Linked DNA regions of Homo sapiens: all the other regions are linked to region 1. Evidence: promoter capture Hi-C in human tissues and cell types (Jung and others, 2019). All regions are on one chromosome and are shown on one strand. Each heading gives the region's core, a stretch centred on a gene start or on the middle of the fragment in contact. The rest is flanking DNA. Distances are from core to core; before and after follow the strand shown.

Region 1 (6,046 bases), core at 2,563-5,062:
CTGGGAGGCTCTTTACCCCAAGCCTGGACCTTTGTGGGAAGGACTTTTCTCTAGCGCTCTGCAGCCTGGAGGGGTGACCTGACTATGAACCTATCTCCTTCCTCATCCCAGGAGCCTCTCAGGCACAGAGACTGCCTTGCTGACTGTTGTCTTCTCAGTGCCTACCATGTTTGCAGCAGGGCACAGCTGCCCAGTGAACACTGAATAAATGCCCCTGCCAAAAGCACTAGTAATTTTCAAGTGAATCTTCTAGTGTTTCAAGCCTGGACAGTTGCAAGAGGTTATAGCTGGTTTTCCTGCTCCCAATTCTCACAGGCTCATCCAGTCTGGTCATGGCCATTGGATAGTTCTACCTAAATCACTCATAGGGCACTTTCTAGTTCCAAAGCCTGCCTTTCCTTTGTTTGTCTACCACCAACTCCAAGCCTAACTCTGACAAGCACTCATTCATCTTCTGCTGAGTGAGTGAATGAATGAATGAATGAATGAATACATGAATGAATGCTTTGTATATAGTAGAGATTCTTGCAAGTGGAGCCCATTGCTAGGAGACACTGGGGGTGGGAGTTGTTAACCTGGGAGCAAGGGGATTTCGGGAAGCATCATCAGGAGGTAAGGAATCAGGCTCAGTGAGGTGCACCAGGGACTAAGATTCACACGGGGAGAGATTTAAAGTACAAAATTGAGGGCATCTCACCTGTCTGCCCAACTGGCTCATAGACACATAATTTTTCAAGTTCTTAGGTGAGAAAGGGTTGCAAGTGGGAGTTGGAAGAGCTGTTTTCCTACCTAGCTGTAAACTTTAGGTGCAGAAGCTGGCCTCTGGGGAACTCAGCATGGACCAGCTCAGGTTGCTTGGAAGCTCCAAGGCCAGCAGCTGGACCAGGTGAGAAGTGGCCATGGCAGCCTATAGCACAGGGCCCAGGAGATCACTCCTCCTCCCAGGTCAGACATTCCTTGGTGGGGATAGAGGTTCTGCTTAAGGCAGGGTGAGAGCGAGCAATCTGACTTCTGATAGTCTCTTTCTGGTAGGAGCGGCCCAGGGAATCTTGGTGAAATGCACCTAAGGGTGCCAATTAGAGGCCAAGACTCCCAGTGTTTCTCACATTCCCTACTCCTCCTCCCATCTTGACTGGCTCACTGCTATGGCCCACTTCAAAGGCTTCCTCCTTTGGGCTACCTTCCCTGGATATCTTGCTAGGAAGTAGCCGCTTCCTCTCTTTCAATTCTATACCTGCATCCTGAACCAGTGCTGCCTGGGCACTCAGCCCACATTGCCTTGTGGCTAGTGTAGGTTCATTTTCCTACTCAGCTGTAGGTGCTATCTTCACATCCACCCTCCCAAGCACACAGTGCCCTAGATGGGCATAGCCAACTGCTTTAAAGTATTTCTGGATTAATGGTAGATCCGTGATTTTTAATAACCTTCAGGAGTTCTGCACTGACTTGGCCTATTCCAATCCATCACTAGGCGAGCTTGTCTGAAGCAGCACCCCTGTGGACTGGTGGTTTGTTAGTTGGCTGTAGAACTCCTTGAGGAGAGGTTCTCCTTACATTTCCAGGGAAATGACCTAGGCCCTCCCTCCTCAGAGTGCCATTCGTGAATGGGGCATCAGCATCACCTGGGCTACTTAGAAACACAGAACCTCAAAGAGTCAGAACCTGCCTTTGAATAGGCTCTCTAGGGGATTCATGCAAATGAATGCCTGGAAACCCTGGCCTAGGGGAGACTCTCACCAGGAAGCAGGGCTTTAAAAGGATGGGTGAGGAGTGACACACTGAACAGCTGCTGGGAGGACCAACTCACCCCTCTCAACTTAGATGGGGAAACTGAGGCCCTGGGAACCACGGTGGCTCACACCAGAGAGTTAGCAAAACACACTTCCCTGCCTGGGCTCTGGAGACTGACTTCCCAGGTGCTAGCTTGTCTTCTAGCTGTGTGCCCGTGTGCAAGTTATTCTGCCTCTCTCTGCCTCAGCTTCCCCATCTGTAAGAGCCACCTCCTAGATCTGCATATTTAATCATTGAACGACCAGGACAGGTAAGAGTGTACACAGTGCAGTGCCTGGCACACAGTGAGGCCCTGTAACTAGCTCTTGTTATTAGTGCTGCCCAAAGCCACATTCACAGAAGACAGTCCAGTATCCAAAGTGCCTGCTTGAAGCATGGCCAGAAGGCAAGCAGATGGTGGGGTGGGCAGTGATGTCAATGAGCAAATGCCTGCATCCATCCATCAGTACATTAACTCCTCCTCGAACAACTATGGGTGTTTGTCGAGTAAGGTCCTGGACATTCAGCAGTGAGGGAGAGAGCGGGGGTGGTCAGTGGGCAGAGGCCACTGAGGAATATGGGTACCTGGGCATGGACCCTAGCGCTGCAGTCCACAGACCCCTGGGTCTCCGGCCAGGGGGAAATGAGCTCTTAGTGGCGGGTCTTTCTCTGGCCTGGTATCAGGGGCCTGGGCGGGAGAGCCAGGGCTGCGTGCTGCCTTCCCATGGCTCTCACGCTGGGCACCGGTATGCATCATGCATCAGCAAGGATCCTAGGGCATCTGCGGCCCATACCCTGGGTGGCAGCTGGCCTGGATGCAGCACAGGTTGAGCTCTTGGGGCATAGGCCTCCTTCCCACCTTGTCCCCCCGCTGTATGCCTCCAGGGCCTGTGGGCCGCCTGCACCTGGTCGCCGGCCTTGGGTTCTCCACCGAGCCTGCCTCTGAGTTATCTCCCCTGAGCCCCAGCACCTGCCGCCCATCCGCACTGTCCACCATCCCTGACATTCGATTCCCCCACGAGGCACCTCGCCTGTGCGTGCAGTACCTGTTTTGCTTCCACCCCATTCCCAGCAGCGGGTTCCGCACCTGGGATCGCACGTGAGATTTCCCCCCACCCCCCAACCGCATGCCTGGGCTCTACTACCTGCACCTGCCGCCCCACCCCTGCATCCCGCTCCGCACTTCCCGCGCATAGGTTTGGCCAGGCCCTCCCTATTGAGGCACCTGTTCTCCAAGACAGAGCCGCTGTGTCCCAGGTGCTCTGGGTGCAGGCGCGAGTGGGGATTGAAGGAGGCGCTCTTATTCCACTCTGTCCGGGACAGGGGCGGCTTTGTCCTAGGGCACTCTTGCTTTAATAGAGAGGGCCCGGCCACACCCACGTGCGGGAAGTGCGGGGCGGGATGCAGGGTTGGGGAGGCAAGGGCAGGAAGTAGGGCCCAGGACGCGGTTGGGAGGGCGGGGAAGCTCAGCTCACTTGGATCCCAGCTGCAGGGCCCGCTCCGGGGGAAGCCCCCGAGCTTCCCGGTTCCGAAAGTGTGCAGCCACTGAGAATTTATTAGCCTCGTGGATCCCTAATCTTTCCCCTTTTCTACCCTTTGGTCAGCCGCATTCTAACAAACGGCAAGCACACGCCCCGCTGGGTAGCAGCAACCCGAGAACGCCCCCACCCCCGCCCCCGCCAGACGCCGGTTCCCGCTTGAGAGGGTGAGGGTCCCGAGACCCCTGCGAGGAGGAGGGTCGCGGGGTTCCAGGATGCCGATGCCAAGCAGGAAAGATCACCTCGTTGCTTCTTCCACCGGCCTCTCCGCGAGACATAGCTAAACTTGAACTTGGCATTCCAAGGGTCTGGAAACATCTTCGTGGGACCCATCGAGAGGTTGTTTAAAGACTGGCACCCGCTCCCGCGCCCAGGTGGGGAAAGGGCTGGCCAGAAGTGAAAGTCCGGTCGGGGCGCCACACCTAGGCTGCGGATTCCGAGAGACTGGGAGGCTGGAGGCCTGGGAGGCGTGGCGGGGGCGGAGTCGCCGGGGGCCGGCTTCGCGCACTTCCCGGGCCCGGCCGGCCTGGATGGACTAGCCGGGGCCATGGCCGGCGCGGCGGCGGAGTCAGGGCGGGAGCTGTGGACCTTCGCGGGTTCCCGGGACCCGAGCGCACCGCGGCTAGCCTACGGCTACGGCCCGGGCAGCCTGCGCGAGCTGCGGGCGCGCGAGTTCAGCCGCCTGGCAGGTGAGGCGGGCGGGCAGGCTTGGGGGACACGAGGTTTCTGGAACCGACGTGGACGGATCTTTTGCTCCTAGTGAGAGCGGCGCTACCTCATTCGGGCGCATTTTGAATCGAAACTCCAGGAGGGACGTGTCCACGCGTCCTCCTAGTAGACACGGCTCCCTGAGGTCCCACCTGCAGCCCCAAGGCTTCTTGCTACTCTTACTCTTCCGACTTTCCGGTGGGCAGGACCAACCTAGCCGTCTTCCCCTTTTCCCGCCCTCCGCGAGCGGGGCTTAGGATGGTTCTTGCCCTCTCTTGCGGGAGACCCCTCACTGTAAAGGGCCTGCTGGGGCCGGGGTTGCAAAAGACAGCATGTCCAGCGGCCGTGACCCTTCGGATGTCCTCCCGAGGTAGGAGCGGTGCGTGGACCGCCAGCGCCCGGGCTGGGACAGCACCTCTGACGGCGCGCCAGGTTGGGACCGGGAGGCCAAGGCCTCTTGGCCGGGGCCTCCCGAGGCTGCGCTCTGCAGACTCCTCTGGGATAGCCTGTATTCAGCTTTGATTTTCGAAACCTCATTTTCCTTACTCTTACAGCGTCAGAACAATCCCTCTGAGCTCCAGTTCTCTGGGGGACTAGAAGAATTAGCAAACAGTGCAATTTCACCTTTAAGAACAGGGCGAGCCTGTGAATTAGACAACACCAAGATCACATCGTGCCTTTCCTCAGAGCGGAACAGGCTGATGAAATTGCAAATCAAGCTCCATCTGGCCTTGGCCGACCCAGCCCTCTGCTGCCAGGGCCCAAGTTCGTGACTCATCCCTCTGCCAGGGACTTTGGGTGCAGGGCTTCATCAAGCCCCAGGGCCGCGTGCCGGATGGTCAAGGAGGGTGTGCAGGTGAAGTGGGCACGTCTTGGCACAGGGCACCGGGGTTTGAGTGTATCTGCTCTGTCGCGATGAACAACTGGTGACTGCTCCCCTTCTGGGGGCAGAACAGCAACCATGACTTAGGTTTCACTACTCGGGTAGCTGATTTCAGCGCTTCGGGTCACTTCCTGGTGTTGTGGAGGGTAACTGTGTTTTCCCTTTGGGGGCTGTGAGAACTGTGGCCTCCTCCTGTGTGTCTCCTCTGGCTTCCTAAGTAGGGAGAGTCAGGAGGGAGACGGGGGTGCCTTCTGCCAACCTCTCTATTCACTCCTCATCCTTCCCTCTCGCAGGGTCACCTGCTGGAGACAGCTCCTCACCCTTCTTTCGTATTCTCTCTCTCTCTCTCTCTCTCAACTATTAATTATGGAAATTTCCTACCACTCAGAAATAGAGGGGTACTATGAATGCCTACAGGTGCTGGGGAGGGAGGCTCTCCATTCTTTGAAGCAACTCTTCAAGGCTACCTGAGTAATTATATCAGCACCGCACCTCCTTAATCCCCTAAATCTCCTCCAGCTGTGATCTCTCACGCCCACTATTGGCCAACCTCTCCCCTCAATGCTACCCTGGGAAAGTAGAGCTATGTTCTGGTCCCCTCCTGGTTTCACTCTTGTCCCTCAGAGAACAGTACTTTTCCCCTCAAATGCAAAATTGGGATGTGTCAGCCAGGCTGGCCCTCAGAACTCGTTACCACTTACTGTATGTCTGGTAGTGTTGTGGGCATCTTTTATTTAATGCAAGTTCCTTGTATTTCCTCTACATTACGGTTAAAGCAGACATTTGTGCACTAATCTGACGCCCCTCCCACTGCTGGGAGTCTTGGAACATGTCCACTTGTTTTTCTCCTAGAAACAAGACAGAGAGAGGGCGGGAAAAAACAAACCAAAATAACATCACCTCTTCCTCGTTCCTCCTCTCCCCTCATGAAGTTTTTCTGCCAATTTGAGAATTACTCTGGTTAAGTGGTGGCTCAGAATAATTAAATGCTTAAGATTTAAGTGCTGAAATGTGTTACCTAAAGATTTGGATGGGAACTTCCTTGCCTTTGTGAAGGGAGAGTATTGAATATACGGATGTGTGTCAAGGGTCTCTGGAAGCCTTCGTGCTGAATCATGACCACTCACCATGCTGGAAAGAGAACTGG
Region 2 (6,046 bases), core at 1,058-3,557, 120 kb after region 1:
TTAAACTGATACATTATTTTAAAAAACTTCATCTGCTTATAGTAGTTCTAGGGAATATGATTAAATAAACATTAGTTTTCTAACAAAAAGTTCAAATCAGGTGCCATATTCTCATTGGGGAGATGTTCATTTTGATGGTTATATGTTCTAGGTTGGGCTAAGCAAGACATTTAGTTTTTGTTTTGAAATGCTGCAAAAGTAAATGTTTATTTCTGGCTTAATATTTTAAAAGAAAAATGGTAATTATAGGAGTTCTAATTTAGAAAAACCTCTGCAGTAGCATTCATAGAATCATAGTCCTTTTAAAGCTTAAAATGTGTTTGGATTGATTTGTGCTACTGGCATTTAATGATCTAAGGATTCTTTTTTCACTTTGATAGCCAACACTGGAACTGTAGAATATTTTTACAAAACACTGGTGACTTTTTTAGTGTACATGTTAAAATGACAATTATTACTTAATGATTTAATTCAGGAAATGTTTTGTTGCCCGGAGTGAGCTGGACAGAGTGGAGTTATAATAGCTGTCATGTCCTAGGCATTTGCCTGAGCTGAGAACCATCCTAGAGGGACATCAGCTTACCAAGCCCATGGCCATTCGAGGGCCAAGTACTGATACTGTTGCAGCTCATAGAAGGAGAGACCAAGATTGGAAGGAAGTCACCTGGTCACATGAGTGAGAAGTTCCGAGTTGGCATGTGACAGCAGGTCTAAGCTCTTAAGGACTCCACTTTTGTGTCCTGAATGTTCTCCTTCCAGGCAGCCTGTCCACATTTCAGCGTGCATCCTCTCATTGGATTAGCCTTGAGTGTACTGTGTTCATTCCTTTCTCACTACCCTTGTCTTTGTGGTTGCCTCGCTGCCTCAGCTATCCCATCTGTAAACAGCTGATTGCAGTGAGGATAGAATCTAGCTACTCCAAGTGTGAGCTGTGTATCACCTGGGCTGTATTAGAAATGCACACTCAGGTGCTGCCACCGCCCCTCCCCCCCGACCTGCTGAATCAGAACACATGCTTCACCAAGATGGCCTGGTGATTTTTGTGCACACTGCAGTCTGAACAGCATGGATTACAGGTGATTTAGGTCAGGCTCTCAGTACATGGGGGTTCTCACTGTCTCCCCTGTTCTCAGATAACTTCCCTGAGGGAGAAGACCTGGCTGTTCAGTTCTCTGGTGTTTCCCTCGAAGCTAAGTAGTGCTAAGATAGAATGTGCACTAAGTTGATTGATTGGTGTTAGTTTTAGAACACAAATCCACTGGTATTATTGCACTAATGAATTTCCACCTTAATCCTCTTAAGGGACACATCTGTTTGCTACATTACATTAAGATTTTTAAAAGATGAGATCATTAGTAAACTTGGCAAGTGTGTTGTGTCATAGTATCTTAGGACAACACTGTTTTAAGAATGTTGTATGAACAGCTAAGAGTGTCTCCATGTAAGCAGAATCAAATCTGACTCCACTGTAATTAGCTCAGTTGGTTGGAGCCTTGCTATTGAGATCAGGATCATGGGATTGAACCCTTCATGGGTCAGTTGGCTTTGTTTCATGCATGGCCACAGACCATATCGGTAACCTAGCCAGACATCCAGCAGGTGCTGTCATGGCCTCTTGCAACGATCTGGGTTGGAATAGACTGGCATCAATCTTTGGGAAGGAAGGGGCTGCTATGTCATGAACTTATGCTGGAGGCTGCACTGTAGGTCTCCATGTATAGCTTTATTTATCCTCACAACAACTCTAGCAGGCAGGCAGATGAGGAATCCCCAATTAACAGATGGGGAAACTGAGGCACAGGAGGTTAAGCAGGTTGCCTAGGGCTATACTGCGTTTAAGTGAAGGAGCTAAGATTTAAGGTCATCTTTTTTTTTCCTCCAAATCCTATTGTTAACTCTGTCCCATTATTAGAAAATCAGCAAAGCCCATGCTCTCTGTGCAGATGGGGGTGGGGTAGGGTTGACTGCATTGCCTTTGCATGCGGCTGCCTGTCACAGTGCTGTGATTTAAGTGGTTGTGCTCTGGCAAGTCCTCCCAGGGTTGATGCTCTGTGTCTATGCGTTTTGTCCTCGGACTCCAACCTGAGTCCCTCTGGAAAACAACAGGACTGCCATTGCCCTCCCACTCTGGACTCTGAAATGTTAGTTCTTAATAGTGTCGACTTTAAAACAGATTAACATGCTGAGGCCAACTCAGGAACAGCCCTCCCCCACCCTCCTTTTCTCTCCATATTTTATCTCTCTCTGACGATGATACTTTTGAACACTTGGGAACTTTTCTGTCTTCAGAGGACAGCAATCACCTGCTCCAGGCAACCTCCACACCTCATCTCTCAATAACACTGCTGTTGCCTGTGGCTGGCTTAGAGGCATAGCTGGGTCCTCCTCTGCTGGCCATTTTCAGAGTCTTGGGTTTGTCAGCATCTGCTCCATTAGAGAGACAATCAGAAGATTTTTGGGGGTGAAGGGGGAGCTGGGGGACTGTTTCTGAGCTTTGTTCTGAACTAAGTTAGAAAGAATGGGGAAAATTAAGTTACAGTGAATGTTAAGCTTTGCCAATCAGCGCAATCCAGATTGTGAGAAATTACAGTTTCTCCAACAAATAAATTGCAAAAGAAAGAAAAAGGTGGAAGGAAACCTTAGATGAAAAGAGATTAAAGAGATACATCAACCAAAGGTAATATGTGGCTGTGATTGAATGCTGATTCAAATACATTATAAAATAAATATTTGAGATCACTTGAACATGTGAGCAGTGATGTTTAATATTAAAATTATTAACTTTAAAGTGTGATAATAGTATTGTGGTTAGGTTTAAGTAACAGTTTATGGCTTTCAGAGATACATACTGAAATTATATGATGTCTAGAATTTGCTTCAGAATAATTCCAGATAAGAGACAAGTAGGTGAGTCAATATATGGATGGAACAGGATAGACTGTGAGTTAAAGTTGGATTATAGGTATGTGGGGAGGGCTCATGATACTACTTTCTATACTTGTGCATATACTGAAATATTTTAATAAAAGAGCTAAAAAAATTAGGTTACAATTCCAATAGTCCCCTTGGGATCAGAGCTCTTTCATTAAGTGTTACTGTATGATCTGAGTGTGTTTTCTATGGCTGAGATAGCTAACCATCAGTGGATTTTTTTTTTCATACCTCCAATGATACTTTTCTTCCCACCCTGATTGTTGTGTTCTCCTTAGAATCTTAGAAAAACAAGTGTAGGGCATCTGTCTTTTTATGTTCAGGGTGTCTTTCTAGGCTCAATCAATTCCCATGATGAAGTAAACAATTGTCAGTTACATAAACTATTAGCTTAGTAAGCGAAATGCTAAGGTAGAGATATTATACCTGTGGTTTCAGTATATGCTCCTAAATTTTTATTACTAAACTGTGAAGTTGCTAAGGCTATAATAAGTGATAACAATATATAAAGGCACTCAGTTTCCTAAGGCTGTTGATGCCCATGACATGCCTGCATAGCCACACTGGGGTGTTGTCCAGTTCCCAGTGAGCCAGCTCTGCGTCCGCCTTCAGTATGCCTCAGAAGAGGTTCTCAGTTTACAGTGAATGGCAGTGATGCTTTAATGTACATGAAAATGTAAGTTGTATACCTTGGCACCCTTATAATTACAGTCAACATTGATTTTCTATGGGCAGATAAACTTATTTATGAATTAACTGTTAAAGAGGGAGGAAGATCAATTATTTTTTGAAAAAAAATTATCACCAATCTGCAAAATATATACCCAGAAGTTTCTCTGTTTTTAGAGACACATAGTAACAAATGGAATCTACATTGTATCTATTTACAAACTGGAAACATCCAACTCCTCTTCACCAGTTAGTTTTGTAATCTAGATGTTAAAATGTTAGACTCCAAGGAAAAATGTTTAGAGTTTAATGTTAGAAAAGAAAATCTTAAAATTTTTGATCAACTTGAAAAAAGGGAAAATGTTAAACAACTTGCAGTTCAATATAGAAAGGTATTCCTAGACTTGGCAAAAATGAAACAAATTAGTTTCTCTTTGAATATCTTTAACGTTCTTGAAGAAGAGAAAACCAAGAAGGAAACTCCTGTGGTGCTGAGGTGCCTCATCATGCACTGATTTTTATAGCAGAGAATGAAATGCCAGAGCTGTAACCAGAGTGTGTGGGACAAGCCCAAGATTTTTTTAAGTTCTCAGAATAGAAGATAACCAAGGCATCTTCTGACTGCTTGATCAGAGCCAAAGAGTGGCTTGGGGTGTATAGCAAATGAATTGATGGGCAAACACTACCAGCTTGCATGGCTGGACACTGACAGGCTGGAGACTCTGAGTAGTGGGGTGGTCCTTGGGGGAGAAAACGAGGAGGAGGGTCCCTCTGGCTAAACCAGAGCCACACACAGCCTGCAGCCAATCACTGACCACAATTTTGACTAAAGAAGTTTATACCAATTGCATTTTATATCACTTTAACAATTGTTTGGTTTTATTTATGATTTGAGGTCACCTTCTTCAACCCTCCCAGAGTCAATGAAAATGAGCATGTGGTGACATTGGGGTTGAGACAAGTCGTTGATAGAATACTGTCCCCCTCCTCTGTCTGTAGTGTGATTAAATGAAAGCAAAATGAAATATTGTTAAGGGTGCTACACCCTAGAAACCTAGCTTTTAACCCTTCTGAACAATAAGGAGGAAACTTATTTCTGGGAGTCTTAGTGGCTGTGGTCCTCTGATTTCATGACATATGTGCTTGCAGCTGGAAGGGCATGGGCGCTGGAGCCCCTGGGAGAGCAGCCAACAGAGAGGACATTTGCAGTGTCCAAGTGGTGGAGAGTGTGGAGGGCTCGGAGCACAGTCTACAGTGGCCCCTCTGAGGTGCCTCACTCCCACAGCCTCGAGTGTGTTTCTGGGCTCTGGGCTCCATTGTCTGTCTAAGGGTTTGTGTGCTGACATTGCACTGTCTTACTCACTGTAGTTTACAGTAGGTCTTGATGATGTCTGGTGGGGTGGAGGCTTCCTGCTTGCCTTAGAACATAGCCATTAATGGAAAGAGAGGAAAAGTTAGAACCAGATATGTTCCATTCAGTGATCTTAACATAGAGAAACAGGCTAGGCAACCAACTTGTGTGACCAGCCAAAGAGGAAAGAGACATTTAAAAAATAAGAGTCAGGTCATATCACTCCTCTGCTCCAAACCTCCCTTAGCCCTCTTGCCATTCAGGGCAAACTCCAAAGTCCTCGAGTAGTTGGTCCACTTCTCCATGAAGGCAGAGTTTTTTGTTTTGTTTTTGTTTTTTTTAAATCTGTTTTGTTTACTGGTGCAGCCCAAGAGCCTAGAACAGCGTCTGGCACATAGTGAGTGTACAGTAAATATTTACTGAGTGAGAGGATAACCGTGATTTAGAGTTAGAAGGGAGGAAGAATAGTCTGCTCATCCCAGCCATTTCCTTGCAGAAGTCCCTTGTGTAAAGCCTCTGCTAGGAGCACCTCCTGACTTCTTCATGTATCATAGTGACCAGTTGCCCTCCGGCCTTGGAGTATAGCCTTTCCTATTTTTGAGCTTTATTTTTTATTTTTCTGAGACGGAGTCTTGCTCTGTCGCCCAGGCTGGCATGCAGTGGCACAGTCTCGGTTCACTGCAACCTCCACTTTCCAGGTTCAAGCAATTCCCCTGCCTCAGCCTCCCAAGTAGCTGGGATTACAGGCATGCGCCACCATGCCTGGCTAATTTTTGTATTTTTAGTAGAGATGGGGTTTCACCATGTTGGCCAGGGTGGTCTCGAATTCCTGACCTCGTAATCTGCCCGCGTCAGCCTCCCAAAGTGCTGGGATTACAGGCATGAGCCACTGCGCCTGGCCTGAGCTTTATTTTTTAGAAGTCCATTTTTCCCTAATTTGTATTTGGAGCGATGGTCCTCATATCTCCACAGATGGGGATGGACATGGCCCTTGAAAATTAATTGGTTGTGCCCAAGAGGATGGAAATAGGGTGGATAAGCCACAAGAACCATGACCCCAGGGTTTGGTCATGGAGTGATCTGTGACCTACAACC
Region 3 (6,046 bases), core at 928-3,427, 72 kb after region 1:
AGGTAAGACCTCATACCTCGGGACTAGCAGACAAGCATAACCATTTGCCACTGGGAGCAGGGCCTGGCACCTGCCTGGAGCGGAGAGATCTGAGAGTCATGAAGTTCAGCCCTGCTTCATGTACAGATGAGAAACTGAGGCCCTGAGAAGTAAGCAGGCCCTTTTGTCCAGCTTCCATTCATCTTTATAGAGGGTTATCTTTTATCTTACAAAGATCCTTTTTGATATCCTCAAGATGGTTAATGGAGAACCCCTAGCTCTCACTGTTTAATCATTCAATTTCTTAATGTTTGTTTTAATTGAATTGCCACCAACTTGACTAACTTTTATTGCCCACCCTCCCACTATCCCCTGTCCCCGAGGATCTCTGCCCTACTTCACACAGTCATTTTAAAGGCTAAAAAAGAGTGGTTATGAAAGCTTTTAAAGTTGTAATTGCAGGCACACTTTATTTGAAAGATGCACCACAGATGGAATTAGCACCCCTCCCTGCCCACTCCCACCCAGTGCTCTCCCAAGGACCCTAACAGCATTGGGAGGTCAGCTCCAGAAAGGGTCATGGTTGGGCCAACCCTCTCGTTGTTCTTTAGAGCAAACTGAAGTCCCAAGGTAGCCAGGCAATGAGGAAAAATCACCCAGCTCTCATGCCACAGGGTGACTGGGACGGGCTCCTCATTCCTGGTCCACAGGCCAGAGATGAGTGTTGTTAGTGGCTCACCCCTAACAGCACTGTGAACTGGGGGTCCTGTGACTGTCTTGCACCACGTGGTCAAGTACACACACATACATATTTGCAAAGACATACAAATACAGTTTAATAAAGCTGACTAAGCCACCTCGTCCGCCTCTGCAGGGATGGGCTATTTGTAGTCACTCTTGTTTCTATCCATTGTTGAAAATATACAACATCATTCTCATACTGTGGCCCAGCTCGCTATCTTTGAGAGCAAAAGTGTGATGCAGCCACATGTTCTCTGGGTATTCACTGAGTTCTTCTGGCACTGAGGGACCCTTCTCCTCAGGCATCCAGAGTCCTGGAAAAAGTGGGTCTGCAGTTTTTTGGGGTTCTTCGTGTGGAAAGATAGGAGGTGGGGAGAGGCTTGCTGTCACCCCAGTTCCTACCAGGAGGGGCCACGTTCCCCACCATCTGGTTTATAGCAGGGTGGACCCGCTGGGCAGCTGATCCAAGAGCAGAGCTAGGGTCCCCTGCTAGGTATTTCTCTGTGCTTTATTTGCAAATTTGAGGGACTCTATCATGCACATGTTAACCATGATAGCTTTTGGACATAAAACATGCCCTTTTACGAAGCCCAAAGTGAGGGTTTATAACCCAGAGAGTTGATCCAGAATCAAAGGATTTGAGGACTGGAAAAGTGCTAATCCTCTTGTTGCAGATGAGGAAATTGTGGTCCTCATAGGTTGTGGGAGTTGCCCTTAGTAAGTGGCAAAACCAGACTCAGGTATCCCGGTCTCTGGCTTTTCATACGTTGTTTGCCATTCAAAGGAGATTGGGACTCCTCCTTCCCAACCCCATAGTCTTTCAACCCTGTCTCTGGCGCATACTCTAACCATGCCTGAGGATTTACCTCACACCAACTTAAGCAATTAAAAATTGATTGAAGCACAAAAAAGTGCAAAAGTCATCAGTACACAGTTAAATACAGTTTTACAGATGTATACGGCTATGCTCCATCATTTTCAGATCAATCTCCTGGTACAACAGCCACCCTTCCTCTGTTGAATGAGGCAAAGTATCTGCTGATAAACACATTAAGTGTTTTGGATCTTCACCAGCAACTACCACTACCTAGATCAAGCTAAGAATGTACTCCAGAAACCTCCCTTGTATCCCATCCCAGTCAGCCTCACTGAAGGTCACCACTATTCTGACTTCTTTCACCATAGCTAGTTTCACCCATTCTTCAACTTAATATGGTGGGATCATACAGGATGTGTTCTTTTGTCAGAGAAGTTTTAAGATGTATTTTCAGTGCGTTCTTCTGGGTGGGGGTGGGGGGTGCAGAGGGCCATTTTTTTTGGAACCTCATGGCAATAAATAAAAATTACAAAAATAAGAGTTACAAAAATAGGCTAGGCATGGTGGCTCACACCTGTAATCCCAGCACTTTGAGAGGCTGAGGTGGGAGGATCACTTGAGCCCAGGAGTTCAAACCCAGCCTGGGCAATATAGTGAGACCCCATCTCTAAAAAAAGTAAAAATAAGTTAGCTGGGCATGGTGGCACATGCTTGTAGTCCCACCTACTTGGGAGGCTGAGGCAGGAGAATTACTTGAGCCTGGGATCTTGGTCAAGGCTGCAATGAGCTGAGATTGTGCCACTGCACTCCAGTCTGGGTGACAGAGCAAGACCTTGTCTCAAAAAAAAAAAAAAAAAAGGTATCAGAAAAATAGCAGATGTTACACTGCAAATAGAATGGAAATTAGGAAATACTATCTTCTTTATTTATAATGTTTTAATACCCAAAAAAAAAAAAAAGAGTGAGATCTCAACACCTGTGAAAAGAAGGGGGAAAAAAGGGAATGAGATCTCAGTGCTTCTTAGGTCTTTGATCATTAAGCCTGTTGACAGGTTTTTAAATGCCTTATGCCGCCCCACCTTATAGAACTGGTGTGTTCTCAGAAGTTCCTTTTTCACTGGAGTTCTGTTCTTCTGATTTCCAAAGTCCTTCATCTCTTCAGCTAAGATCTGCTCGCCCTTTGCCTGGCTCTTGTGGGACTCTCACTGGAGATGGGACCGTATCCCAGGGGAGGCCCTGATGCCTGTTTAGCAGATGGGTGTCTCTTGGCCTTGCACTCATGGTAAAAGTCTGTTTTGATTATCCAGGGCACAGGCCACAGTAGAGCTGATGAAGTTAGGTGTTACATGGCAGGCATGATGAATTATTATAGTGGTACAATTATCTGCCATCCTCCCCCTACTTACTCTTTTTGGTTGCTTTAATCAGTGATGAGAATGGAAAGGAGGAATTATTCTCACTGAAGGATCTCAGCTTGCGTTTTCGTGCCAATATTATTATCAATGGAAAAAGGGCTTTTGAAGAAGAGAAATGGGATGAGATTTCAATTGGCTCTTTGCGTTTCCAGGTAAGTTTGGGGAAGTTCTATTATCCTTCCTCCAGGGTTGTCAATGAAGATTGACCTCAATCCCAGACCTGGATAGCTGCAGGTGGGACTCCCTCCCAGTCCTTGTCTCTTAACTACAAAATCTTGGTGGGAGGTTATGTAAGCTTAGCCTTCTAAGACACCCCATGGAATAATCCATCCTTTATTTCCCAAGAGGATGGTAGCAGTCAGTTTCGCACACACCACAGAAGGTGTGCGAGGGCTCGACACTGCCTCTGTGCTGTCGTTATGTCCAGACTTAAACTCTGGTTTTTTGGAATGCTTGTGTCATGAGACTGTCATCCTCCTGAAACTTGTTGGACTTTGTGGCAGTCTGGAGCTTGTGGAGGGAGGCCCAGAAGCCTGGCGGTGCCTCTTTGCCCATGGCCACCCACTCTTCCACACGCTTCACCTTTTCTGCCTTTGCTGGTGGCTGGGAAGGAGATTGTCAGAGGCAAAGCCACCACGATGTCCTCTGTCCCTGGCTTTGGACTCCCAAAACCTTTGGCTATGGGCTTCAAAGATATGAGAAAGAGGCGAAAGGTCTTAGGCTAAAATCTGTGCTCCTCACATGGTTGACAAGGCCCTACGAGATCCCATGCTGCCACTGTCTCTGAGCTCATCACCCCTTCCCTCTCTGCCTCCGTCACAGTGACCTTCTCTCTGTTCCCTAAACAGCCACCCTTCCTGCCTTAGCCCTTGCCATCCCTTCTGCTTAGCATGTTGTCCAAGGGTCTCAGCTCAGATGTCACCTTCTTGGAAAGGATGCCCCTGACCTGCCGCAGGGTCACGTTCTGCTTATTCCTGCAGTGTGTGGGAGGGTGAGACCAAGTCTGTTTTATTCCCTGCTGTACCTCTATGGCCTTGAATGACACTGGCCCAGAGTCAGTGCTCAATAAGTAATTGTTGAGGGAAGAAATGGACAGAAGAGATAAGGAATATCTAATGCCAGAGAATGTGCTCTGTTCTTTAGTGGGGGCTGAAATTATTTTTATAATACAGGCTGAACATCCTTAATCCAAAAATCTGAAATCTGAAATGCTCTAAAATATAAAACTTTTTGAGCACTGACATGACATTCAAAGAATATGACCACTGGAGCATTTTGGATTTCAGATTTTCAAATTAGGAATGCTCAACTGGTTAAGTATACCAGAGATATATAATGTAAATATTCCAAAATTAAAAAAAAAATCTCAAAATGCTTCTGGTGTCAAGCATATTGGATAAGGAATACTCAACCTGTGGTAGTGTAATTAGCCACTGGTATAAACTGACTATAACGAGCTACCTTGTATTCAGGCTCTGCACTCAGAAGGAACACCACTCTAACATCTAGGAAAGCAGTAAACAGTCATTTGAATCTTTATTAAAGAATTTTAGAGATCTGGGGTATAGGAAATAAATTGCATGGCACAATAAAATGTTCCAATGATGTTTTTGATGTTTTTAACTCCCTAGACTTCCTCTTACCCTGACAGTGGCTCCCCCTTGACAAGCAATCTATATTATGTCCTACATTCTCTCCCACAAGCCCATCTCAGGCACTAGCCCTCCTGCCGTTTCCCTCATCCCTCCATCCTTACTTACTCTTCCTTATTTTCTATCCCTGTGTCTCTGCCATGTTTTTTAAAAAAATGCCTACTGTTACACATCCTGCTGGGAACAAAATAGACACTAAATATACATTATCAAATAGGTGGAGAGTGAGAGGAAGAAAGGAAGAAAAAAAAGGGAAGAGAACTAGAACTAGACTGAGATTACTCTCAGAAACTTACCTGGCAACAGTAGCACCTGTGCCTCTCCAGGTATCTCGAGACATAAATATAAGGAAGACTCTTTAAGGAACCTTTCTGAGATGACTTAGCAGGCTTTGCTTTCTTTAGGTCACCATTCTTAATAGACCACAACTAGTAAAAATCAAAATATGCATGCCCTTTGACTCAATAATTTCACTTGTAGAAATCTATCCCATAGAAACGCTAATACAAGTATTAAAATAAGTATAAAATTATTTTCACCAGCCTGGGCAGCATAGCAAGACTTCGTCTCTCTCTACACACACACACACACACACACACACGAAAAATTAGCCAGGCACGGTGATGTGCGCCTGTAGTCTCAGCTCCTTGAGGTGGGAGGATTGCTTGAGCCCAGGAGCTCAAGCCTGTAGTGAATCAAGATTGCCCCACTGTACTCTAGGCTGGGTCTCAGAGCAAGATCCTGTCAGTCAATCAGTCAATCAATAATAGCTATATGCATTAGTCCAGCACGAGCATTAAAGAGCATAAGATATGGTTAATACTGCACCTTTCTTTTTTTTGAGACAGGGTCTTACTCTGTTGTCCAGGCTAGAGTACAGTGGTGCAATCTTGGCTCATTGCAACCTCTGCCTCTCAGGTTCAAGCAATCCTCCTGCCTCAGCCTCCTGAGTAGCTGGGACTACAGGCGTGCACCACCACACCTGGCTAAATTTTTTATTTTTGGTAGAGATGGGATTTCACCATGTTGGCCAGACTGGTTTCAACCTCCTGGGCTCAAGTGACGTGCTAGCCTCAGCCTCCCAGTGTTGGGATTATAGGCATAGGCCACCACGCTTGGCAATACTGTGCCTTTCAAGAAAGTAAATGCTTGGCTGGGCACAGTGGCTCATGCCTGAAATCCCAATGCTTTAGGAGGCCAAGGAAGGAGGATCACTTGAGCTCACAAGTTTGAGACCAGCCTAGGCAAAACAGCAAGACTTTATCTCTACAGAATATTAAAAAATTAGCTGGGCATGGTGGTACATCCCTGTGGTCTCAGCTACTCAGGAGGCTGAGGTGGGAGGATTGCTTGAGCCTGGGAAATGAAGGCTGCAGTGAGCTATGATGAAGCCACTGCCCTCCAGCCTGGGTGACAGAGCAAGACCCTGTCTCAAAAAAAAG
Region 4 (6,046 bases), core at 2,397-4,896, 65 kb before region 1:
ACTTCTTTGACTATAATTTTTGACACATTTTACAATAGAAAAGAACAGAGTGCTATTAAGAATGTATAATAACATGACCTCAATAATTTCCAGATGGCCACTGAAAAAATATAACTTATACCAAGACCTAAAGATAGGTAGGAATTTGGTGGGGAAGGTTGGGGAGGCAGCATTCCAGGCAGGGAGTAGCACCAGGAAGGGGCCAGCACTGTTCTGGAACTCAAAGAAGTACAAGGTGGCCGGGGCCTACTAGGTCAGAGAGGGTGGCCAGAGATGAGGCTGAGGCAACTAAAGGAGATCAGACAATAGAACTCTGTTGAGAATAGTGGGCTTTGTCCAAAAACTAATGGAGCCACTGGAGGAAGGATTTTAAGTAGTGGTGTGCAACCTCATCATATTTTCATTTAAACAAATCACTGCCCGCTCTGTGAAATCTAGATTGGGAAAAGGAGGAAAACAAAATAACGTGGACAGGCTCCTATTAGGAGGCAGTAACTGTCACTCAGGTGGGAAGTAACCATGGCCTGGACTAGAATGACAGCAAGAAAGATGGAGAGGAATGGAGAGACCATGGACATATTTATTAAAACTTGGTTGGATGTGGGGATGAGGGGGATATCAGAGATGATTCTCTAGTTTTCGGCATGAACAATAACCTTCACTAGCAGAAGGTGAACCTTAAGCAGCAGAAGGCCTATAACCTAAAAATATGATATACAGAATCTCCCAGGGATGCAGGATGGATCTCTTAAGAAAAATCCTAAGTAAAATGCCCTGTTACGAGCTTGAAGAACTCCCCATACTCACAATATAATGAGTAGTAGTTTTCTTTTTGAGAGAATTAGATTAAAAATTATTAAGTAAGTAACTTTAATATCTGGATGCCTTTAACAAAAGATAAACTCAGCATATTCCAAAAAGGGAAGAGAACATGTAACATTTGCAAAACTCCTATGGGAAGTCTTCATCTAGAAATTATGCTTATTTGCTGTTTCATGCTCCTTAAACATTCAATATTTACTACCATCGATTATGTACCAGACACTATTCTACACATTGGAGACAGAGCTGTAAACAAGACAGAGAGATCCTGGCTTTTAAGAGCTTACATTCTAGTAGATACTATTTTAAAGCAGAGTGCATCAAACTACTCTGACTATGACCCACATTAATATATGTAATGTAAAATAGTAATATATAATATTATTGTTGCATTTAAAAATATTGGTTATGACATACAGATTGATTTTACAACTCACTAACAATCTAGAGTTATAACCTAGAGTTAAAAAAGAAAAAATTATTCTGTGTCAGATAACAGAGGGCCTATTTCTTGGAGTCCTAGGTTAAAGAGGGCTAAGTTAAAGAAAAGCTATCCTTAGCTGGGCATGGTGGCATGAGCCTGTAGTCTCAGTTACTTGGGAGGCTGAGGTGGGAGGATTGCTTAAATCCAGGAATTTGAAGCGCAATGAGCTATGATCATGCCACTGCACTCTAACCTGGGCAACAGAGGAAGATGCTGTCTCTTAAAAAAAGATACTGTTTTCTTAAAAAAAGAAAAAAAAAGAAAAGCTGTATTTAGGTAAAATTTGGAAATGAAATTGAAATGAGAATGTTAAATAAATTATGACATTTTGACCCAGATGTACAGTTAAAAAAAGAAGAAAACAACCCAATCCCCAAGTCTCCCAGAATGAAAACTGATCTTTTTTTTAAATGTAAGAAAAACTGCAGAAGACTTAAAGAAGTAGGAATAAACTAGTCCATATATGGCAGATAACCTAAAACTATGATACATGGGATCTCCCAGAGGTGCAAGATGGCTCTCTTAAGGAAAATTCTAAGTAAAAAATGCCTGAAGAGCTCCCAGTACTCACCATATAATGAGTAGCTTTTTTTTTTCTTTTTGAGATAATTAAATGAGATTAGAAACTATTCAATAACATTAAGAAACAGTCCAAGGGAAGCAATTGCGTCAATGGGAACACAGAAGATGACTTCCTTGATTAAGAATAAATAAGCTATTCTTATTTTACTTCTTCCCTCTATATTTAGGTCCACTAAAGAGAAGGCTCAAAATTTTTAATTTGAGATTTCAGTGAACGTAAAATCCCTAAGAGCAAATACTCCTAGTATGTAAACACTCTCCTGTTTACACATGCATTTGTTTCCCACAGTGAGCTCTATGCTCAGCAAAAATCAACTGTGTTAGTTTTGAAACCTCTTCACGCCAGTTATACTTATTACTGTAATTGCACAATTTAATTACACATTGCTCAAACTATGAAATGATGGTAAGGAGTTACTTCTTTTTTGGGGGGTAGAGACAGTGTCTTGCTATGTTGCCCAGGCTGCTCTCAAACTCCTGGCCTCAAGCAATCCTGCTGCTTCAGCCTCCCAAAGTGCTAGGATCATAGGCGTGAGCCACCGTGCCTGGTAGGGGATACTTAATTCCGTGAACACAAAAGCTGAATACTTGGAAGATTCAAAGGCAAGGTGCTAAAAAAAGATATCAAATTACGTAAGGCTACCACTGAATAAATTTTTTTTTTAAATTTCCAAAACCTAGATTCTACATTCAGAATAGCTTTAAGTGTGTAATCTCTTGTTCAATTTTAGAGAAACCAAAATTGGAAATCATAGATGAAGCAGCATGGCTGATAAAGAAAAAAAGAAACGATACAGAATACGGAACTCCAACTTGAAGAAAATCCTGGTCAATATCAAGTGACCAGAATATGAGTGTACAGATGTATTAGGTTAGACTAAAATGTTGAGATATGAACACATCACTTTTCTTTTCTTTTTTTTTTTTTATTTTTTGAGACAGAGTCTCACTATTGCCCAGGCTGGAGTGCAGTGGTATAATCTCAGCTCACTGCAGCATCCGCCTCCCAAGTTCAAACAATTCTTGTGCCTCAGCCTCCCAAGTAGCTGAGATTACAGGCATGCGCCATCTCACCTGATTAATTTTTGTATTTGTAGTACAGATGGGGTTTCACCATGTTGGCCAGGCTGGTCTCGAACTCCTGGCCTTAAGTGATCTGCCTGCCTTGGCCTCCCAAAGTGCTGGGATTACAGGCATGAACCACCCCACCTGACCCACATCATTTTTAAGAGTCTCCTGACAGTCTTCTGAATGACTTGCCTGATCACATCAAATAAAAAGTGGCAAATTACCATAGGCGACTCAAAAGGGTTTTTTTTGGCCAGAAAGAAAGAGCCTATTGTTTGACTTCATACCATTTCTGATCCAATTTGCAAAGGGCAAGTCTGTAAAAGTCACATACCCTTTAAAAGAAAACAGAACATTTAGCTACTGGGTGACTGGAAATTAATGACATTAGTTAATCGTAACTACTAATAAATATTGATAGTGTATCCATGTATACACGATGCTTCTGGTCTTCAAGGCCCTGCTGGTACCTTGTCTGGTCACTTATACAGATGTTCATCCTTGCTTTTCTTATCCTGTCATGAGTTTCAAAAGAATAGCAAAGACAGAAAACTTCAGAGCTATTAAGATATAGAAATGCTCCTCATAAATATCTCTGGGACCAAAAAGTACTTCAAGGGTACTGAACTCCCTCTCAAATAAAGCTCATACAACCTGGGCATGCTATTCTAACAATCTAGTTAGAGTACTACTATAAATAAATATCTGAAGCATAGTAAGTACTCGGTATACTTTTTCTTACCTTTTTCTTCTTATCTTTAAATTGTTTGATCAATGTGAGGACATGTTCAACAAGAAACATGAAATACAGGCCTCCTAGAGCTGTTAGACCCTTCCACGTGGAATCAAAATAGGCACTTTCTTCTATGTTTTGAGAAGACAGATGACTGAAAAGTGGTCCTCTTTTCATTTCCATTGCTGGTTCTTCATGGCTATGACTATGGTGGTGACTTGCATGAGACTGAAGGCAAAATAATTTGTTATTTATAAATTCATCAGTTTCACACACCGAGTCAGAAAGTTGGCTAGGTAAGGTCAAAATTGAAATCATTCAGTTATGCAATTATTCAGATACTTCAGAGATGAGGTGAAGTTTAGGACATTAAAAATAAAATGACCAATGAGCAGCTAGCTATCTAGAACTTAATGCATGTCATGTACTTCAGATACATTCCCAGTGACCCCCATAATATATAAATAGTGAGCATTTTCAATGCTTGACGAATTACCATGGCCACAAATAACAGGAATACTAGACTTAATGTGCACAGTTTCTACTGCTTATTTTCCCAACTGAAAAGCCCATACCAATGTCATCACACTAGCATTGTAAGAAGCCTAGTGTGTGTGTGTGTTGGGTCCTGGCATGTACCCGAGATCCAGGTGCACTGCCCTAGCAGCCTGTAACTGAGTGGAGTAGTAACTACTGCTATTGCACATTAGGGAATCGGGTGTGGAACACACTAAGATACTGGGGGATCACAGAGTACACCCCATACACACGCCACTTTCTATCAGTAGGTATTCCCGAATGTCTGCCATCTGGTGGTCCGAGAGCTTGTCAGAGCAACATAGTTTTCTTTAACTACTGAATGGAACATGAGATTTGTAGTGCTCTAGGTATGGTGTGATTTCCTTTTCCCACATACTTGAAAACCTTTAATGGGAATTTAAAGAATGAAACACGCATATTTTTTAACTGAGCATCTATTCCAAATATCTGATGGAAAAGTAAATTCACTTTACCAAACTTGTTTTATGTGTCATGAAGTGTAAATCTTTAAATACATACATAAACATTCAACTCTGAAGAAAACCTCCAAGTTTCTTGGGTACATAAAGGGTCACATATTTTATTTCTTGGCAATTACACTAACAGATAAAGCAGATAACTCACATTGCTGCAGTCTATCACAGTACTAATAGCCAGGCAGAATTTGTCTCTTTTTATTAAGTGGGTTTCAAAAAGTTAAATTAGTCTGTGTTTTGTAAAAGGAAAGCAAAATTCACAAATGTATTAAGATCGAGCAGAAAAATACAGCTTTCACTTACCAAATATATTTTAAAATAAGCTTTTCTAAACCAAATTTCTAACATTTTATACAAAAAATTCTAGCATAAACCAAAACATTTTTTTTTCAATGTTGAATAATCAAACACTAACAGGACAAATTACTATACTTACATGTGGAAGAAGGTGTAAAAAAGCATCACCACTCAAAGTCCCAACGGCCAGTGCCACAAGGAAACTCAGGAGAAATTTGAAAAACACCCGATTCATGAGAGGCACTAAGATAACCCCCAGCAGAGACAGGAAACTGATGATGGAAATGGCTATAAAACCACCAACCCAGGCTGTCAAACAAAACAAAACAGAGCAAAGAAAAATTATACAACTAATAAACTCTACAAGAAAGACTTTTGGAGAGTAGCATAAAGCAACACGTAAAAGGAGAGAAGCTAAAAACACACAAATTCAATGCAAATAGGACCTACTGTGGCAATAGCACAATAACCAAGAAATCTGTTGTTGGCTCAAATGAACAACCTGACTGGTACTTAAGAACTCTCCAGGTAAGGAGCATAGCTCTAATGGGAAATTCTTCAGGTCGGGGTGAAAGAGGAAAAAAAAATGGTTACCAAGGATGAACTGTAGCTCACTTAGGAACTGAGCTTTCAGACTCCCATAAGAGCTAAATGATAAAAGAATTTTTTTTTTTTAAGAAAAAAGGAAAAGAAAGAAAAGAAGAGGAAGAAACCAGGAATTCAATAATGTCCTCAGAAAACAAAGCAGTGATTCCTTCCTCATTACTTTTGAGCAATGAGACCCTACGCTATAGCAGAGCCTATCCTAGCTTCACTTATCAATAAGAATGCATCAGTATTAGGTTTCTAAGCAGCATAAATGAACCCAAGACCTCTTCCCAAGCAGTGTGACATGATATAAAAATCCCAAATTTCAGGTGATCCTGACACCTTCTTGTAGGATGAACCCAGAGAAGTCATAATTGAAATTTTATTTTCTGGGATTTTTTTTTAAAGGGCAGGGCTAACACCCTTCCTTGCTTTCTTCACATTCAAGGCAAAGAA

The links. Contacts are between HindIII fragments. The study calls those that stand out against the background at their distance.
Region 2: a contact is called between a fragment that was not itself captured here and the fragment with the promoter of MOCOS in region 1, in 2 of the 25 tissues and cell types used here (spleen and stomach).
Region 3: a fragment that was not itself captured here is called in contact with the fragment with the promoter of MOCOS in region 1 in 4 of the 25 tissues and cell types used here (H1 embryonic stem cells, lymphoblastoid cells, mesendoderm cells and 1 more).
Region 4: a fragment that was not itself captured here is called in contact with the fragment with the promoter of MOCOS in region 1 in 3 of the 25 tissues and cell types used here (liver, neural progenitor cells and stomach).

Annotation. Positions count from the first base shown.
Region 1 is chr18:36,183,685-36,189,730 of GRCh38, forward strand. MOCOS (molybdenum cofactor sulfurase) reads left to right here and starts at 3,813. Exons shown (of 15, transcript NM_017947.4): 1 at 3,813-3,997. The coding sequence starts at 3,856. COSMOC (cell fate and sterol metabolism associated divergent transcript of MOCOS) reads right to left here and starts at 3,751. Exons shown (of 2, transcript NR_134605.1): 1 at 3,551-3,751. RefSeq lists an enhancer at 2,035-2,857 and silencers at 3,617-3,880, 3,726-3,915. The HindIII fragment of the contact is 25,317 bases long and covers 1-6,046 here.
Region 2 is chr18:36,301,410-36,307,455 of GRCh38, forward strand. The region is part of intron 1 of FHOD3 (formin homology 2 domain containing 3); the gene reads left to right. Among named protein-coding and RNA genes, the nearest start is that of FHOD3, 6.7 kb to the left of the region's middle. The HindIII fragment of the contact is 6,751 bases long and covers 1-5,683 here.
Region 3 is chr18:36,257,072-36,263,117 of GRCh38, forward strand. It overlaps MOCOS (molybdenum cofactor sulfurase), which reads left to right. Exons shown (of 15, transcript NM_017947.4): 12 at 1-2; 13 at 2,966-3,104. Among named protein-coding and RNA genes, the nearest start is that of FHOD3, 38 kb to the right of the region's middle. The HindIII fragment of the contact is 5,571 bases long and covers 1-4,963 here.
Region 4 is chr18:36,118,354-36,124,399 of GRCh38, forward strand. It overlaps SLC39A6 (solute carrier family 39 member 6), which reads right to left. Exons shown (of 10, transcript NM_012319.4): 4 at 5,142-5,311; 5 at 3,699-3,917. Among named protein-coding and RNA genes, the nearest start is that of SLC39A6, 8.0 kb to the right of the region's middle. The HindIII fragment of the contact is 8,201 bases long and covers 1-6,046 here.